Linked DNA regions of Homo sapiens: region 1 is linked to region 2. The links are contacts of gene promoters, found by promoter capture Hi-C in blood cells and fetal thymus (Javierre and others, 2016). All regions are on one chromosome and are shown on one strand. The core of a region is centred on a gene start or on the middle of the fragment in contact, and the rest is flanking DNA. Distances in the headings are between cores, read along the strand shown. Region 1 has its middle 46 kb from the start of SLC25A48-AS1. Region 2 holds the start of CXCL14 (C-X-C motif chemokine ligand 14).

Region 1 (3,996 bases), core at 1,251-3,750, 120 kb after region 2:
CCTATGAGGAGCTGCCTAAATCACATTATCTACCAAGTTGTCAGTGCAGGGAGGCCTCTAACAACCAGCTGGGCTTCACGGGGGTGAGGGTCACCTGACACCCTCAGTGCTGTCTCCTAATGGTCACCATAAGGCCCTAGGCTGGGACCTGCTATGGTTCTCATGGTCACTGTAAGGTCACATTGTGGTGATTTGAGTTGGTAACAATCAGCTTAGTGCCCCATGGTTGGACACAGGGAAATCAACTTAGCTTTTTCTTTGGCTGGTGGTTCTTAAGCCAGCTCTCTGTGGCCTGTTGTCAGTCAGCAGAACTATGTGGCTGGGTCAAAGCCATGACTCTAACAAAAGTCTTTTCTTAGAACTGATACTATCTTCAGCCTGAAGCTTAAGAAAAGTCTGATCCTATAAAGAACTTGAGTGTTTCCTTATGGCTCTGAGCAACCACTACAGTTTTTAAAAATAATAATAATTTGAGATGGATCATAAGCCTAAATATAAAACCTGGAACCAAAAAGCTTCTTGAAAAAAAGATATTGGAAAGAATATCTTTATAATCTTGGGGTAAGCAAAGATTTCTTAGATAGAATACAAAGGGCACTAGCCGTAAAAAGAAACAAGAATAAACTGGTCATCAACAGTAAAAGTTTCTGGTTTTCATCCTCAGAAGATACCAATAAAGAAATGAATAAGTCATTTGAAATACATATATTTGAAATACATACATCTGATCAAGGAATTATATCCAGAATATATATTTTAAAACTTCTGTGGATCAGAAAAAAGGACAAACAAGTTAATTTATAAAATGAGAACGGAGATCTCACAAAGGAAGATATGTGAATGGCCAATGCACTCATGAAAAGATGCTCCAGATCATTAGTCATCAGGGAAATGCAAATCAAACCCATCCTAAAATATTAACTCACACCCAATAGAATGATGAAAATAAAAAGGACGGGTAACACCAAATGCTGGTGAGGATATGGAATGAATGGAACTCTCATACAATACTGGTAAGAACATAAATGATAAAACCGCTTTGGAAAACGGTTTGGCAGCATATCTATAATATGACCCAGTGATTTGATTTCTAATTATTTACCATAGAGAAGTAAAAACATATGTCCGTACAGAGACTTATACAGGAATGTTTATAGCAAACTTATTTATAATAGCCGGAAGCTGGAAACAAACCAAGTGTTCAACAGGAGAATAGATTTTTAAATGTGATGTGTATACATTACGATGTGATATTATGCATCAAGGAGAAAGAACAAACTACTAACACCTGCAACAATATGGATGAATCCCCCAAAAACATTACGCTGGGAAAAAAAAAAAGCCAGACATGGAAGAATGAGACCAAGAGATACATGACATGATTCCATTTACATGAAGTACTGGAATAAGCACAACTTGTCTACGATGATGGAAAAGTTGCCTCTGGGAGCAAGGAGGCAGAGCGTGATTGAAAAAGGGCACGAGGGAACTTCCAGGGTGACTGGAAATTGGGTCTGTACAATTATCAGCACTCATCAACTGGAACACGTGAGATCTGTGCATTTTATTATGTGTAACATGTTCTATATTTCATAACTTGATTTTAAAAACAATGGTAATAGCCAGCATGGACTGAAGACTCCCTCTGTGTAGCACAGTGATAGACTGCCTAGTGAGGGTCTCAGCAATGCTCACAGCCACCTGCTTGGTAAGTGTTGAGAGAGGAGCTTCTTAGTCATGCAGCATGCATTATTATCTGGTTCTTTAATATCCAGTCTCTTATTACACTTTCCAGTGCTCCCTGAAAGCTTGTATCAAAAGCTATCCTGACACCCTGTTTTTACCCAATGAGGAGATGGAGTCTCTGAGGGGTTACAAAGCCACTGAATGGTGGAGACAGAATCTCAACTCCGTGGCCTGAAGCCTTATTCCCTTTAATTCTGTCTGCCCCTCATTTTGTTATCTCTGAGTCCCCACCAGCATTTGACACATGGCCTTGCAGTCCTGCACTTAGAAAATGGTATTGGGCTGAGCACTGTGGCTCATGCCTGTAATCCCAGCACTTTGGGAGGCCAACTCCTGAGGTCAGGAGTTCGAGATCAGCCTGGCCAACATAGCAAAACCCCATCTCTACTAAAAATACAAAAATCAGCCGGGTCTGGTGGCGTGTGCCTGTAATCCCAGCTACTTGGGAGGCTGAGACAGGAGAATTGCTTAAACCCAGGAGGGGGAGGTTGCAGTGAGCCGAGATCATGCCACTGCACTCTAGCCTGGGTGACAGAGCAAGACTCTGTCTCAAAAAAAAAAAAAAAAAAAAAAGAAAGAAAGAAAAGAAAATGATATTGGACTGAAAATGTGAATTTTAGTCAGCCAAATATTGAGTGAATGCCTGCTAAACATCAAACGCTATGCTAGGGGCCGAGGACAGCAATGAAGGAGGGTGCCCAGCCTCTAGAGCCCATCTCTGGGAGAGGCCCCCACGGGCAGATGTCTGGTGGCCCCTGTGTGTTTGCTGTTCCTTGTGTTCCTCCCTGGCTGTCTCCAGCCCTAAGGCCCAGGCTTAGGTTTTATATTTTGTGGCCCAGGTTGTAAATACTGTTCTCAATGGTGCAGGCACCCTCCTCTCTTCATAGGCACCCTGTCTGAGGGAGAGTTCTGCAGTCCCCTCAGGCTCTGGGTGCCTACCTGGGCCTCTGCATGGCTCCCCATGTCTGCAGCTCTAGCAGGGGTGCACCTACCAGTAACAACACAGTGGATACCACTTGTGCACGTGCTCCGAGGCCTGCCAGGCCTGCCTCTGCTCCCAGCTGCTAAGGCAGATTTGGTGCAGGTTGAGGCATGACAGGGTCTCATAAATCGCAGAGGGCCTGGGACCTGGGGGAGCTCACTTTCCTGCCTTGGAATCAGGAGGCAGCTCTGCTGGGCTCCATCCTGCCTATAGATCTGGCAATGGGCCATCCTCCACTGCACAGAGTGACCTGGGGACCTGCAGCTCTCCCCACTCCTAGAGTATTGTCAGCCACCAGTTCCAGTAGTAATGGGCCGAGTAGCACCCATCTTCCTCAGAGTGTGGGCCGTCAGTCCTCCAGTCAAGAACCCCCAGGACTGATGCTCAGCCTGCCTGCCCTGGTCCACTTGGCCCAGGCTGTGTACCACCCTGCTCTCCCCTCATCGTCTCTGATTACTGGGAACCAAAGCTTCAGTGACATGGCTAGTGATGGCTCCATCTAGGTCACATCCTGAGGTTCAACAACTTCACATCTTGGGAGTTTTTTTCTGATAATCACCTCTACCCTGTTCTCACCCTCCTTGTTACCAAAGTTAGCCAAACTGCCTATGTCTAAGCAGGGGACCTGGTGACATATTGGGAGCAGTATTTTGAGGAACATAACTCCCCCCCGCCACCGGCCCCCACCACATATACACCCTGAACACTGAATTGCATATTGCAAAGCTTTTGCTGTGCATTTTCTCATTCATTCCCAATGTCATCCTTTAAGGTACACAATAAAGGACTGTCCCTCCCACTTTTAAAAGAGACAGGCCCCAAAACTCTTGGTAGCATAGGCCATGGCCTTTGATAGTGTCTGAGCCAGCAGACTAATAGGCAGCCCATGCTCCATGTTCCCTCGGCAAGGTCCTCATGTGGTCCAGATCTGGGCATTCCTCATATGTGGCTGGATGGGCTATATGGAGTGTATCCTTGGGTGAACTCGAGATGGAACCCAGCAAGATCAAAAGAGAAGCTGTCTTGCCCCTGCCAACCTGTCCTCCACATGGAAACAAGAGTGATTATTTCCTTCTAAAAAATTAATCTGACCATGTCACTCTTTTGCTTAACATCCTTATTGTGTGCCCAGGCACTGGGCTCCATGCTTTATATATTTATCTCTTTAATCTTGCAACAATTCTAAGAGGTAGGTGTTAGGATGTTTACATATGGATGAGAAAGATGAGCCTGGAGATACTGCATTTACTAACTTGCTGGAAATCATA
Region 2 (3,700 bases), core at 1,106-3,605:
GCTCCATGGACCTATGACACAAATTGCTCTTTCTAGAATTCGGACTCTCCTGGATCCTTCTGGGTGCAAGGACTCCCACTTGCAAAGCGGACCTCTCCCCCCGCCCCTACTCCTGCCCCCACCCCCAGCCTCAGCAGAGATTTCTGGGTGACTCAGGGTAAGCTGGAAAATTTGCTTTTGTTCAGCCTTTGTGGCTGAAAACCTGCTTTGCAAAAGTGCTGGCCCCTCATCTGATTTGGAGAGTTTTAGGATTGTGGAGGGGGAGAGGAGCCCCCAGCCCTCAGGGATGGAGTGGGAGGCCCTAGGGGGTGGGTTAGAGGTTTAGTAGAGGGTGATTGGATTGTGTGCTGATCTCCTGAGGCCCCTGCACGTTTCTACAAGGCTCCGTAAAGCCTTTCTCACACTTGCCTAGCTATAGTTTTTCTCTATATGTGGAAAAGTTTAGCCAGGAAAAGAGCAAGCCTATTTACTGAGGGCTCTGTCCTTTTTAGGTATCACTGCATCCTTTACCCTGCTTTCTTCCCCTGCAAGGTCTCAGAAACTTGTTTGGTTAATAGAGTGGTTTTCAGCTCTTAGACGAGTGAGATTTAACTTGGAATTCCCCTGTCATTCTTAGCCCCCAAACTGGAAGCCCTGAGGAGCTTGGAGCTCCTTTCCCAGCTCATTTGACACTTGGCCCCCACCCAAAAGGATTTTTGGGTATTTTCTTTGAATTTGGTCTGCAAGGCAAGGGGTAGGGACAAGCAAGTTAATTTAGGTGTCTGTGAAGGAAGGCAGTGGGGTCAGCTCAGTTCCAGTGGATTTCTGAATTCCCCTAATTTCAGCCTGACAGTGTAGCCCCTAGACGGGGATGGGGGGTGCTGGGTAGGGGTGTGCACTGCTTTCGCAGACACTGTGAAGGCCTTTGCGCCGGTGGGGGCCAGCTGGTGGAGGGCACTTGCCCAGACTGAGAATAAAGTGCGTCCTGTTTCTGGGGGAGGGGAAGAGGGGCCAATGGTCTGTGGCAAATATTTGGTAGCCGCTTTGCCAAGGGCTCCCTTCCTGGCCAAGAGCATATTGATGAGGAGGCAGCGGTGCTGGCCTCAAGTGGTTAATTGGGAAGGCGGAGGAGCAAGAAACTAAGTGTTCTCTCACTCTGCCCCAGTTTTTCCAACATTCCCCACATCCCCACCAAGCAGGGCTCCAGCCATGTGGCACATTAACCCCAGCAGAGCACTTTCTGCAGTACTGCTCCGTATTGGGGACCCACAAGGAGTACAGTCGGTGAGGGAAGCTCGTGGAGCGTTCTCAAAATAAAATCTCTAGGAGCCAAAAACTTGCGGTCCACTTGTCTCTGACTGGAACAAGGCTCTGAAGGAGACTCAGGATTTAAGATAGTGTTTGCATTAGTCCTCTATCCAGTGACAGGAAGGCAGCACGCCTCACAGTTTGGGTGTGAGTGTGTTTTAAGTGATTTCAGTCTAGGTTTTCTGAGTTGGCACAAGGGAACCCTTTAACCCTTGATGGCCCTAGCAGAGTGGGTGGCCCATGGTACAAATAGGGAGACTGCTCATTTGAATCCTAGCAAGGGTGAACTTGGAGGCGCTGTTCCGGAGCGGGACAGTGACCCCCCTTCCCGACTGTCTTCCAGAGTGTCTCGCCAGCGTCCTAAGGACTCTCTGGGCAATTACAAAGGCTTTTCCAGGGCCTTGACAAAGTCGGAGAGAAATGTTTGTTAGCCCGACCCAGGCCCAGGCTGTGCCCTGGCATTGGGTTGACAGCAGTGCGCACCCCCTCAAGGTGAGGAGCGAGAACTCACATAACCATCTTCTCCTCGCAGTGCGGGTACTTTGGCTTCATTTCCAGCTTCTTCACGTCGCTGTAGCGGATCTTGGGTCCCTTCCGGGAGCACTTGCATTTGGACCCTGCGAGCGAGCGCGGGGCAACGGCTTAGTTGCTAGGCGGTCTCCTGCCCCTCGACCACCTTGGTGCCCACCCAGACCACCCCCCGCGGGATCCCAGGATGCCTAGAAATTGGCGCTTGGGTTCCCCAGGACAGGACAAGACGAGACGGCGACAAGGGGAGCTCCCCGCACTCACCGTCCACACGCGCGGTGTACAGCGCCAGCAGCAGCAGGAGCAGCGCGGCCGCCAGGAGCCTCATGCTGACCGGAGGGGCGCGGCGTGGGAGCAGGGACATGGGGAGGGCGCTGGCCCGTCGGAGCGGCGGCCCGGAGACGCCACCCAGCTCTGCTCGGCTTTCTCTGCCCGGGGCGCGCCTTCCGGCTCTGCTGGCTCCGGCTGCGCCGTCGGTGGATGCCCAGGGCTGTCTGTGGCCGTGCGCTGCGCTCTGCGCTTGTCTCCGCGCTCTCTCCACAGCCTCCCTCCGCCCGCCCTGGCCTCTTTTAAATCCGCTCCTGCCCTCGCAGCGAGCGAGCTCATTAATATGCAGAACCACTCGGTGACTCACTGAGATTTCTCAATGTGGTGAGGGGAGGAGACCTTCCCAGCCCGCCCGTCGCCCGCCCCGGGAAAGGACCCGCTATCGCAGCGGCGCACACCCGGAGCCACGCGCGCACACGCACACACACATCCGCTACCCTCTCGCTCACACAACACGCCGCCTTCGCACACTTGCACACCCATACCACAGCGCGCACACATTTCCAGCGTCCCGCTCTGCCTTTGGGGAGCCCAGACGGTGGAGAGGCTGCTGAAGGGCACTGCTTTTCTGAATCGTGTGGTTCTCTCTCTGGCCCGGCAGGCCAGCTTTTCCGAGCCGGCGGGAGACCCAGGCCCAGGGCTCAGATCCTCAAAGACCTGAAAGGGTTTTGGAGCAGGTGCCAAGTGTGAGTGCCTGCAGGCCTGACCCCCAAGGGCCCCTGCTGGGCCAGAACACAAGGCCAGTTCTGGACAGGGGCTTGTCATAGACTGTCCAGCAGCAAAGTCATTGACTGTGATCACTGGAACTGACTCAAAGAGGGTATGTGTGTGTATGCGGGGGTGGGGACGGGTATTGGGGAGGAGTTTTGGTGACTCCCAAAGGAAAGCTCCTTAAAGTGGGTCAGTGGCCTGGTGGCTGTGTGAGTGTCTGGGTGGTGGGGAGAACCAGGAGGAGTCCTCACTCTCACACTACTCTCCAAAGCCAGGTAGAGAGCCCTAGTGGAGAGCGATGACAGTGGTAACCATCTGGATGAAGGCCTTCCCATGTTCTAGACATTGTGCCAGAATGCGAGGTATAGTGGTGTGAGCCCAGCCATAGTGGCAGAAATTCCCTCCTCACTACTTTCCAGCACAAGTGACTTTACCGCTCTCAGCTTTTGTTTCATCATCTGTAAAGTGCAGATCATCACAGTGTTTCTGATAGGGTGGCTGTGAGAACTATAGAAATCATACATGTTGTCAGTACCCAGGAAATGTTACTTATTGGCACCATCGTTTTATGTCTAATTTATCTATTACTTTGATTCTTACCAATTGGTACTTTTCTTCCAAGTTGGTACTTTTAATTTCTTTATTTGACAGGTGTGGAAACATGCTCTGAGAGAAGAAATAACTTGTCCAAGGTCACAGAGCTAGGAAGCAGGTGACTAGGCCAGGAGGGTCCTCAGTATATACGGCTGCAGAACTGGGACTCCTGTCCCTGGACCACTCTGTTGCTTTGAGGCCTGTCTGCCCTTCACTTCTTGCTGCCTTGAGAGACCCAGAGACAGGAGGTGGA

The links. Contacts are between HindIII fragments. The CHiCAGO score rates a contact against its expected background, and 5 or more counts as called.
Region 1: a fragment that was not itself captured here is called in contact with the fragment with the promoter of CXCL14 in region 2 in 1 of 17 cell types (M1 macrophages); the score reaches 5.3 in M1 macrophages.

The regions. Positions count from the first base shown.
Region 1 is chr5:135,698,075-135,702,070 of GRCh38, forward strand. It overlaps a transcript of SLC25A48 not described here. Among named protein-coding and RNA genes, the nearest start is that of SLC25A48-AS1, 46 kb to the left of the region's middle. The HindIII fragment of the contact is 1,389 bases long and covers 1,807-3,195 here.
Region 2 is chr5:135,576,636-135,580,335 of GRCh38, forward strand. It overlaps CXCL14 (C-X-C motif chemokine ligand 14), which reads right to left and starts at 2,356. Exons shown (of 4, transcript NM_004887.5): 1 at 2,080-2,356; 2 at 1,799-1,904. The coding sequence starts at 2,143. It also overlaps a transcript of SLC25A48 not described here. The HindIII fragment of the contact is 10,061 bases long and covers 1-3,700 here.